Regions from separate parts of the Homo sapiens genome. Here all the other regions are linked to region 1. The links are contacts of gene promoters, found by promoter capture Hi-C in human tissues and cell types (Jung and others, 2019). All regions are on one chromosome and are shown on one strand. The core of a region is centred on a gene start or on the middle of the fragment in contact, and the rest is flanking DNA. Distances in the headings are between cores, read along the strand shown.

The links. Contacts are between HindIII fragments. The study calls those that stand out against the background at their distance.
Region 2: a contact is called between a fragment that was not itself captured here and the fragment with the promoter of SSH2 in region 1, in 1 of the 25 tissues and cell types used here (spleen).
Region 3: a contact is called between a fragment that was not itself captured here and the fragment with the promoter of SSH2 in region 1, in 1 of the 25 tissues and cell types used here (adrenal gland).

The regions. Positions count from the first base shown.
Region 1 is chr17:29,928,473-29,932,278 of GRCh38, forward strand. It overlaps SSH2 (slingshot protein phosphatase 2), which reads right to left and starts at 1,756. Exons shown (of 16, transcript NM_001282129.2): 1 at 1,466-1,756. The coding sequence starts at 1,528. It also overlaps a transcript of EFCAB5 not described here. RefSeq lists silencers at 956-1,005, 1,516-1,795, 1,946-2,035, 2,769-2,938. The HindIII fragment of the contact is 11,754 bases long and covers 1-3,806 here.
Region 2 is chr17:29,771,017-29,774,822 of GRCh38, forward strand. All of the region lies in intron 3 of SSH2 (slingshot protein phosphatase 2), which reads right to left. Among named protein-coding and RNA genes, the nearest start is that of SSH2-AS1, 130 kb to the left of the region's middle. The HindIII fragment of the contact is 3,784 bases long and covers 1-3,709 here.
Region 3 is chr17:30,077,648-30,081,453 of GRCh38, forward strand. It overlaps EFCAB5 (EF-hand calcium binding domain 5), which reads left to right. Exons shown (of 23, transcript NM_198529.4): 15 at 568-857; 16 at 2,425-2,594; 17 at 3,106-3,334. Among named protein-coding and RNA genes, the nearest start is that of NSRP1, 37 kb to the right of the region's middle. The HindIII fragment of the contact is 7,904 bases long and covers 1-3,806 here.

The sequences.
Region 1 (3,806 bases), core at 506-3,005:
TCCAGCAATGTGCACTCACTATTTTGCAAGGCAGTGCACTCCACTGTTACAAATTCTTCCTTACAATCACTGGAAATCTGCCTCCCTGAACCAAGAATCCCAGTTCTGCTCTCTGAAACAACACAAGATATATAACCTTTGAAATAAAATCACTTATTAAGATATAGTTGTCAATTTCATCACACAAAATGCAATTAAAGCTCAGAAAAGAAGAAACCACAACCATACACAACAAAACTTTGAAATTCAGGAAATTATACTGAAATGACAAGCCAGCAAATTTCAGGATATCAAAGCTCACACCTCAGTTAACATACAAATATTAAGGGTAACCTGATGATTTTTTTACAGTGGAAAGTGGTACAGTGTTTATTAAATACCTTTTTTTGCAACCTGATACTACCAAATCCACCAACACCGTTTTTAAAATTACAGTTCTGTAGGAAGTTCAAGGTGGTTTTCCCAGTTGCTCGCATTTTCACTCAGTTTATTTCTCTCTAAAACATCTGGATGTTGGTTTTTTAAAGCCCATTTGCCCCACTGGTGCAATATATTGTTTTTAAAAATAAATATTTTCAAAAATGGAGCCTAAGAGAATGGAGTGTAAACGAATGGGGGTGGGGCGAGGAGAGAAGGCAAAGACGGGCCCAGCGGGGAAAGGCTGGTTACTGGGTATTTTCCTTCTGAGAGCATGCTTTATTGGCATAGGCATCTGAGGTAACGAGCCATACAAACACGACCTTAGAACAAGAATGATCACGAGCAATGAGTGTAAGGCATAAATATCTGTAAGACGGAAATAATTTGACACTGATCACTAAGCAGCACCAGATGCTTCGGGACCTCATAAAGGAAAGGTAAGAGGTCCAGGAAACAGAGATCATTGCTACCCTCTGGGGTGGGGGGCAGGCGGGAGAAACCAAGGAATAACTACGGTTGGGCAGTTCAAAGCCTGAACAGTACAGAGCAAAAGAAAGCCAGCAAGTGACTAGGGGAAGGCACACACCCTGGCGAGTACGAAGAAGGGTGTGCAGTGTGCAAATACTGAACAGGTCTATGAAATGGTGTGGGTAAGAGATGTGGGTGTGGGTAAGGGGCAACGCAGGAGGCTCACGGTCCCCTCCCTGCAGCAGAGCAACAGAGGGTAAAAGAAGGGGGAGGGTGAAAAGCAAGAATGACTCATTACCAAAAGGAAGTGCTCAAGCCATAGGGAGGCATGCCACAGGGGATTTCAGGGCGAGGATTGTGAGGAGCTAGGTGCTCAGGGTGATGGGGGCAAAAATCAACGTCTTGTAGTTCCTGCTGCTAGTCTTTAACATGGGGGTGTGGGGGGGTTCGCGGCAGCCGAGTGCCAAGGCCTGGGAAGCGGCGCGGCGCGTGCGCAGTGGCGTTCGGCGGGACCCGCTGAGGCAAAGCGGAGCCGCAGTGACAGAAGCAAGCGGAGCGGCCGCCAGGAAGGACTCACCGAGGCGCAGGGGCTGGAGGTGGTGCTGGGGGTAGGTGACCGCTGGACCGTGACCAAAGCCATCTAGGCGCTGCTGGGTTGTTCCGGGCAGGGCATTCTTGTCCTGAGTGTGGGGGACGGGAGGGTGACGGAGCCGGGATGGGGAAAGGGGTGCGGGGTGGGGGTGAAGGGAACGGGGAGGAGGAGGAGGCCGCGGGAACGGCCGCAGACTCCGCACCCACCACCAGACTGTCGCCGACTGACGCTCCGAACGGGCGGCGGGCGGGCGGTTCCGCAGCTGCGGGGCACAATGAGCGCTCCCAGTGCGCAGGCGCCACCTGTCAGCTACCGCCTCTCCCCTCGGCGCGCGCCGCCGCCTGGTCGTAACCCTTGAGTTGCCGGAAGCTGGCCGAGTGCGTGCGCCTCGGGCCGCCGCACCCTCCTGGGTTTCCTCCTTCGTGCTGGAATCGCGCGGTTTGCCAGCACTGGGTGCTGTGGAGTGGGGTGGGGGAAGGGGCCGAAGGGAGCCAGCCCGGTGAGGGGTCCCAGGGCGGGGGGCCGCTGGAGTCTTCACTCCTGAGAGACAACCATTTTATGAGGTGGGGCGGCGCACAGCTTAACCAACCTTAAAAAAAAGCAGCTGAGATGAAAATCCTGAAGCAAACACGTTTTCTATTGGGAAAGGGCTCCGCGGAGTTTCAAACCCTCTCACTGGGCGCAGACAGAACTGGGCTAGACCAGTTTACTCCCTTCACCCCGGCTCTCGGGGGCTTTTTCTTAACTTTTCCCCCCCTTCCGTCTATGTTTTATGATGAGACTTCTGGAAAGAAAACCATTTTCCGTTTGATACCCTGGAAAGGTTTGTGGTACCCTCATGCTTCCTCTATTGCCTGTCTAAAGACTTATTCATTATTCCTGAGGAGAAGAGAAGCTGAGCGCGCCTGGGAGTCCGAGGAAGCCGGTTGTGAGGGTCCAGCCTGCTATTGACCTCTCACTTGCCTCCTGCTGTGAAGACAGTCTTTTAATTAAACAGGATTTGCTCGTTAAGCTTTCTTCTCCTTCGTCTCTAAATGTCATTCTTTCATAGACCTATGTAAAAATGTAGATTAAAAGATATTTTAAGGGAATGGTTTTCTCAGGGGTAAATTGTCTGCAGAACATAAGCAAAGAATGTAATGGAAAATCAAGATTAAAAAGGAAAAAAATTGCACAATGCAAATATCACTGATTATTTACACAAAGAAAGAGAGTTGACAAGGCTATTTCTCAGCTTGAGTGGATGAGCTGGTAAATACCACCGTACATATCAAAGCTGTAGAAAACACACACACTTGGGAGTTTGCAGTTATTAAAACCCACCCCCTCCTGTTTGTCACTCAAACACTCTTGGATCTCATTGCTTCTTTTAAACTGACAGGGCTGTCATGAGCTCTTTCTGGCTGCTGTACGGTTAAACGCCACAAGAGTCCTCTGTGCTGAGCCTTTGTTCTCTCCCTGGGGCCCTGTGGTTGAAATAATTAGCAGGGAGGTTCCATCAAGAATCAGACACTGAGGGTCCCTGTACTGTACAGTCCTATGTAGAGTGTAGTGCAGAGAAGCCAGCTGGTAGGCTTTTGCCCCCTGGTGGTGATCAGGAGTGCCTGTGAGACAAAATTAAACAAAGATGTATGGTTCACAGATTAAACAATCTGACTGTGTTTTCCCCAGAGCTCCGTAGTAAACAGGAAAAGAGAAGGCAAGTTTCAGAAGTAAGAACTTTGAACCAATGCATGGGAGACCAAAGAGGAAACTAGATACATAGCCAAAAAATACACATAGCTAGAAGCTGAATGAACTCAAATAAATGAAATATATGTGCTTTATGAACCAAAGTATCATTCTAGAAAAAGTAATATTCAAATCTGTAGGTCTTAGTACTTGTATGTTGATTCTCTGACTCAGGGAGGGCAACAATGATGTTCTACTTTTTCATGGTAACATACTCTTCAGAAATTCTTTTGGAAGATGAAAGGCTTAAGTCCATTAACCTTGCAGTGAGAAAGAGCACTACCATAGGAATCAGAAGACCTGGTTTCTAGTTCCAGCTCTAAAACCTTATGCAAATGGCTTGAACTTTTTGAGCTTTAATTCCTTTATCTCTACAATGGAACCCTAACTGACAAGATTCTTGAGATAATGTATGGTAAAGTTCAGAATAAACTGTAAATAAAGCCCTCTATGCAATTAAGATAACTTTTTTTTTTTTTTTTTTTGAGACGGAGTCTCCCTTTGCCACCCAGGCTGGAGTGCAGTGGTGCAATCTCGGCTCACTGCAACCTCCGCCTCCCGGGTTCAAGCAATTCTCCTGCCTCAGCCTCCCGAG
Region 2 (3,806 bases), core at 568-3,067, 160 kb before region 1:
AATTAAGGGACCTGCCCAAACTTACATAGTAAATGTCAGAGCTAGGATTTGAACCTACGTCTTCTGATTAAGTCCAGTGATCAATTCCTGGTTTATAGTACGCTGTGACACTTTTCTAAGTCCTCTAGAATTTATAATATGTATTACGTTATTCAAAGTCTTATTTTCTGTCCTCTATTTTGTGGCACATAATGCATATTTATATAGACAACAATGAGAGCATATTTATTTGTTGTCCTCTAATTGCTGCCTATATAACTTATCTCTCTACTGGAGCAAATCAGACACTAACTCTTTTGTGGACTTTATATAGCCTAGCACAGTGCTATGCAGGTCATAAGCACTAAATACATCCTGGTTAGATGACTGATCCTTTGCACTACATCACTTTATATCTTTCTTAAGATATATCATCTTTCTTTCACACACACATTATGCTCTAGTAAATATTTCCTTAAAGAATCAGTACATTAATGATGGAAGTTCTTTCTCCCTGGGAGCACTGCCTCACTAAATAAGGAGTAGCCCTTAAGACTCCTTTTCACTGCCTTTCATCTCTCTCTTGCTGCCTCTTGTTCTTTGGATAGATACCTCCTTCACACACAGAATTCAGTAGAGGGCCTGAAACACAACCTAGTAAGTAGGTAAGGGTTTTATTTTTATTTTCAAGCCTGCTCTAGACTTTCAGGAGCCAAAAGTTCAAATCACAGCAGGATTGATTCAGCCCTTTCACAAGCAATTTAGTACTATGCAGTTTGTTTAGGATGGTCAAGTTTCCAGGCCCTGGCAGAGCAGCATCATTATCTCTCTAAGCCTTCGTGTATCAACTTCCCTGGCCATATTTCACTTTCTATGTCTTTCTTCTCTGAAATCAGGTGAACATGCAAAATCAGACACTTACACAATTATACACTTTTCAACAACCATGTCAAATATGTTCAAGAATTTACCACAACATTGGAAGTTGTTTTTTCTCTCTGGATTAGATAAAACCAACAAGTATGCAAAAATTAACTCCTCAGTCCTTAGTAGAAAGGGGGCAGTATTTATCATTCTTCAGCTAGTACATCAATTAACTGAGAAAAGATGTGGTTTTTTTTTTTCCAGATTCTATTCAGTCCACCTCACAGCAACCTAAAAGGATAGATGGGCAGATGTTATCCTCATTTTACAAAATGAGGAAATTGAGGGCTACCATAGTGTGAGGTGAGACGGAACTAAAATCAGGTCTTTTTTTTTTTTTTTTTGAGACGGAGTCTCGCTCTGTTGCCCAGGCTGGAGTGCAGTGGCGTGATCTCGGCTCACTGCAAGCTCCACCTCCCGAGTTCACGCCATTCTTCTGCCTCAGCTTCCCAAGTAGCTGGGACTACAGGCGCCCACCACCATGCCCGAATAATTTTTTGTATTTTTAGTAGAGACGGGGTTTCACCGTGTTAGCCAAAAATCAGGTCTTCTTACTCTTACTTAATTGCTTTCTCTCTGTGGTAGTTAATTTTAGGTATCAATGTAACTGGATTACAAAATACCTACAGAACTGGTAAAGTATTACTTCTGGGTTTGTCTCTGAGGCTGTTTCCAGAGAAGATTGGCATGTGAGTTGGTGGACTGAGTGGGGAAGATCCAGTCTCAATGTAAGCAGGTACCAACCAATCTACCTGGGCTACAGGCCGAGATAGAACATAAAAGGAGAAAAAAGCTTTCCTCTCTCCTCCTGGAGCTAGGATACTCTTCTCCTCCTGCCTTTGGACATCAGAACTCCAGGCTCTCTGGACTTGGGACTCCAGGCTCTCTGGACTTGGGACTCCAGGATTTACTCCAGTGAACCCCTCCAGGTCCTTAGGTCTTTGGCATTTGACTGAGAATTACTCTAAAGGCTTCCCTGGCTCTGAGGCTTTTGGACTTGGACTGAGAAACCCTACCAGTATCCCGGTGTCTCCAGCTTGCAGATGGCCAGTCATGGGACTTCTCGGCTTCCATAATTGCATGAGCCAATTCCCCATCTGTCCATCCATCCATCCATCCATCCATCCATCCATCCATCCATCATCCACCCATCCATCCATCATCCACCCATCCATCCATCATCCACCCATCCATCCTATTCTGTCTCTCTGGAAAACTCTGACTAATATATCCTCTACTACTCTGCTGGACGTCCAGATTTCCCTTTGTATATAAAAAGAAAATCAACACTGCACACTTGGAATCCTACCTAACTAAACAGGAAGATTAAATCAGAACTGAGTTTCTATCCATAGAAATAATATTACAATGTAGAAAAGAAAAGACAAGGGGTCCTATTCCTTGTCATTACACAGTAGAATAGAAAATATATATTTAAAACTCATATACATTTTTTGTTTAATTACATTTTTTAAAACATTTTAATTTTACCTGGGAAATCTTTTGTTTTTCAGAAATCTTGTTTTCTAAGCACCTCATGAATAGATGGCAAACATTTTGACTCTCTTTTCTGAAGACCAATATTCTACAAATAATACTAATCTTCAACATCTTAGTTTTATTAAATGCTCCTTAATTTCACTTTGTAAGATTTCTCCATCAGATGGTTTACACATCGCCTTTTGAGATTATTAAATATGAATTTTGTTAAAGTGATATGAAGATATTGGCAGTTTGAGAGATCATTTGGGTTATTTTTTTTATTTATTTATTTTTAGATGGAGTTTTGCTCTTGTTGCTCAGGCTGGAGTGCAATGGCACGATCTCGGCTCACCACAACCTCCACCTCCTGGGTTCAAGCAATTCTCCTGTCTCAGCCTCCCAAGTAGCTGGGATTACAGGCATGTGCCACCACACTTGGCTAATTTTTAGTAGGCATGGGGTTTCTCCATGTTGGTCAGGCTGGTCTTGAACTCCTGACCTCAGGTGATCCACCTGCCTTGGCCTCCCAAAGTGTTGGGATTACAGGCGTGAGCCACCACGCCCAGCCATTTGGGTTATAATAGGAATCTTTCCATAGTGTCTGTTTCCTTTAAAATATATTTAAGACATAAACATATGCATAAGGAGCATATACATACAGGTTTCAAGGTAAGAAAAACCAAGTATATAAGGAGTTCCTAAAGTTTATACTGTTTAAACTCATAAACATAAGATCAGAAGAGACAAAAAACAAAAACTTGACCTTATACTAAACTCAGCAGTTCTGAATTGTGTTCATAATAAACCTTTCCTAATAGCCTTTTACTTTTTCATCCAAAACAAATAACTTGTAGTGAACAAGAAGGAAATTTTTTTTTTTGAGATGGAGTTTTGCTCTTATTGCCCAGGCTGGAGTGCAATGGCGGGATCTTGGCTCACTGCAACCTCCTCCTCCTGGGTTCAAGCAATTCTCCTGCCTCAGCCTCCCAAGTAGCTGGGATTACAGGTATACACCACCATGCCTGGCTAATTTTGTATTTTTTAGTAGAGATGGGGTTTCACCATGCTGGTCAGGCTGGTCTTGAACTCTTGACCTCAGGTGATCCACCCGCCTTGGCCTCCCAAAGTGTTGGGATTACAGGCATAAGCCACTGCACCCAGCTTATTAATTTTTTAAAGTTTCCTGCATACTTCGTGGAGGAAAGTGAGATTCTAATTTTGGGGGTTGGGATTGGAGAGTAGAGAAGTGGATAAGCATGATGGGCAAAACTTTGGTTCTTATATATATGCTGCTGCTTTTTTAAAAATGAAGTTTTTATTCAATTGGGAAAATCATACTGGGAGAGGGTAATAGTACTATAAAAAGTTAATCATCCGGTCATGAATTACATTTAAAACTGTAAGGTGCAGGATGGCAAGAG
Region 3 (3,806 bases), core at 909-3,408, 150 kb after region 1:
AGAATGGAGATACTGCAGTAGATAATTCCTATATGGCCTTACGGGCAGATGTGATTAGAAATAGACTGGATCCAAATATGGTAGGACTTTGAACCAGGGAATTGCATAATGCAAGTTGTGTTTTAATTTAATTTTACAAACACGTATTGAGCATTTACTATTGTTAAGTCAATTACAAAGTGATAAACGCTGGCTCTGGGGTTATGAAAGTATGAAAGGAGAGGAGTGGCCACACTGCCAAAGAGTAACAGGATAGAATTAAGTGGTTTATTGGATATGGAAGGCAAAAGGTAGGGAAGGAGTCAAAGCAAACCTTGAGGTTTCACCAGGCTAGGTGGTAAAATTAAAACAAAACAAAAACAGAAGCTGACACAGGAGTCATATTGAGTTCAACATAGAAATTCATTGTAACATATTCCACTGGGCTCAGAGATGCCTTTGGTATACTTGGTTTTCCAGGAGAGCAGTTGCCCAGGGCTTCAGTTCATCGTAAGAGGAGAATGAAAATCCCCCCCACCAATGAGTGAACTTTTGGTTAGTTCTTGGTTTCGTGTTTGTGTCTTTTAGCTAAACTACACATCCAATTTCCAAAGCCACACCCTGGTCACGAAGTGAGATTGTCTTCAAAACAATTTCAGAATTACATAGAATTGGTTGTGTCTGAACTCAGGGGCAATGAAGACCAAGTTCTGGAAAGTGTTGTGGAATTTCTGATGAATGCTTTAGAGAGGAGCCACATTGAGAGTCTGAGGAATTCTGCCAGGCGGAAATGGCTGCACCAAATCCAATGTGCTGCAGAGACAAGTGGGGTGTCCCTAGAGCCGGTGTATAGTGAGACCTTTAAGGCCCTCATGCAGGTACGTTTCCTAAAGCAGTATGTAAGAGGAAACATTTCCTCAAAGTAGGCGATGTTCAATGTTTGCAAAAGAGGAGCATCTTGAATTCTCTTGAAAAATCACTGGGTGCTGCTGTAGATATTTTATTCATTCCAGTCCATTACAAATGGCCCAAAGCCTAGGAGAGATACAACTGGAGTGACTGCTGGTTGACAAGATAGAAGCAGAGGAGAAAGGTAGAAAAGACAGATGTAGAAAAGATGTCTTGGGATTTCTAATTTCATTTCTGCTAAGAGTCAAATAAGCCTAGAATGGACAATAGACAGATTATGAACAATATCAGTAAGGAGATGTACAAGCAGTTCAAGCTACATTTCCCTTGCATGGTATTTTGGGAGTCAGTTTTAAAAGGAACTATTTAAATCATAAACTCATTATCGAGTCTGACACCACACAATATTTCACAGCATTGCCTAGAAGCAAGCTGAGACTACTGCAGAATCCTGTCACTTAGAACGCATGGCCCTGAGGGGCTACTGCCTACAGCCTTGCCACCTCCTCAGAGACTCCCAGGTTGCTGCTATTCACAGGCAGAAACAGCACAGCCGCCTTCTACATGTATCATAGATTCCACTAATCCAGGGAACCTATGCCAGTCATCTCAGCTAAATAGCGATACTTGCTCAATTGAATCATCTCCTGAATGGCCGAATTTTCCAGTGTAGTTGGAAATGGGGCACCGGGACCAAAAGACCACTCAAGAAGAAGAGGCATTGTTCTAACTTGCTTCAGAGGTCTGTGGTATCCTAAGAGAAATCTCGCTACATATTTGTTAATGACTCCATAGATCTTGTATGTGGAAAGAAGGAATAAAGGCAAAAGAAAAGGGCATGGAAAGCAAACCCAAATATATAGAAAGAGGAGAAAAATATCAAGGAAAGTGTCTCACATGTCCCCAATTTATGGATATGTTTAATGTATATATTGACACATAATATTGTTAATAACATAATAATAATATTTAAGGTACAGAGAATTTATAGTTGCAGAAATAGTAGTTGCAGAAAGTCTGCAATCTTGGGCCACAAAAAAATCCTTCCTGAAATTACATAGATCAAATATACAAAGTGTGTTAAGAGTTCCTCGAGAGCATTTTTTTTCACTTTCACATCACAGTCGACGGTCAAGAAATATGAGTGAAGTGAAGGCAACTTCTTGGCCCAGCTCTCTCTCTCTCAAATCAACACTTTCAATAGAAACACAGACAGTTGACCATAGGTCAAAGGAATCCAAGTTTTAAACCTCTAAATTTGAGTAGACTTGAGAGTTTTTTGGTTTTGTTTTTCTTTTCTGGTAAACCAGTCCAGTTGGCATAGAAGAAACCCGTTATACCCACTGAAACTCAGACTTACAGGATAGCTATGCTGTCAACCTTTTCCCCACTGCCCATGAATAGTAATATATGCATTCTTTATTCAGGAAAATGAAACTACTGGGGCAAGATGCATGAATTAACTAGTAAGGGGGACATGATTAGGGGAGTTCTTTGGCTGTTGGCAAACACATGGTCGGAAACGTTTTGCTGTAGGATGCTGAAGCCCATGGAAATAAAAAGATCAGTGCTCACATTTCCCTCTTAGAAGAAAACCTACTACTGCCTGAGAAAGGGAATGTTCTATTGAGGAATGTGGCTTGTACCTTAGATGATGCTCAATTTGTACTGAACAGAGTGCTCTACAGGGACATGAAAGGAATCAGGTAAGAACTTCTTGAAGAGATTGGTTTCACCCTCCTAAAAAAATAATTCCCTTTCTGAGTAAACTGGCATCAAGATCCCAGCTAGCTGCTCAAAAGAGAGGTGCCTCAAGTCACCAGTGCTTCTGGAGTAGAAGCTGATGGCTTCCAGTCCTGGATGATTTCACTTATTTCTAGAGCTCGCTCTTTGGTAATGATTCGCCACATGGGGACTCTGCGTCACAATATCATCTCAATTATTTCTGCCTGCTCCATAAGTTATGTCTCTGGAGTTCTGTTTATATTTGTTTTCTATGTCCACATCCAAGCTTGTTTTTTTTTTTTTTGTTTGTTTGTTTTGTTTTTGTTTTAGTCTTTCTCAAGTCAGACCTCCAAACTGGTCATCTTATCTGAGTCCACTGCTCGGTCATATAATGCCACAGATTGTGAATAGAGAATCGCTCTAGTTTCCTCCATGGTTTAATCTAAATCTCTCCCTGTGCCTTTCTTCCATCCTCATACTCTTTTTCCTCAGCTTTACAGTAGTGGATGAAGGGAAGCCAATCCATGTTCCCCAAGTTCAGTACCATGGGAACATCTTCTTCTGGAACCAGTCCCGTAATAAGCATGATTATAATGGTTCATTCCTGGCTCTGCCTCTTCAAGATGCATATATGAGGATCTTTGGGGTCTTGGCTGTTGATACCCTTAGAGATCCCCACGAAATAAACATCTTTCTACCTCATGAGATCAGATTCTATCAGGTAAGTCATAGAAGTCTTCAAGAGCGATGGTAGGATGGCCTCTCTTTCTAATACTTTTTAAAGAGTGAAACCTGAAATCCGATGAGAGTAAAGCTGTGTATACAGATAACATCATCATACTTGCTCCTGTTCCCTGAATGTATGTTTCAGTCTTTTGAGAAGTTCCCCATTACTTATGGAAGGACTTTCAGCCTCAGTTACATATCCATGCCTCAGCCTCATGTGTCCCATAGCATTAATCACAGGAATAGAATTTTATGCTACAGAACAGAAATCCAACCATTGACCATTAAGACCCACAAAGCGGGAATGAACTTTTAGAAGGGACGTATTTGTGTTTTACTAACAGTGGTATCTATCTAGAAATCTTTTGTACTTTCTACAAATGGTACTAATTCTGATATGCATCCCCATAGGTCTTGATTTCAGTGTTATAATTTTTGAGGATGAAAAATAAAGAAAAAGGCCTAAA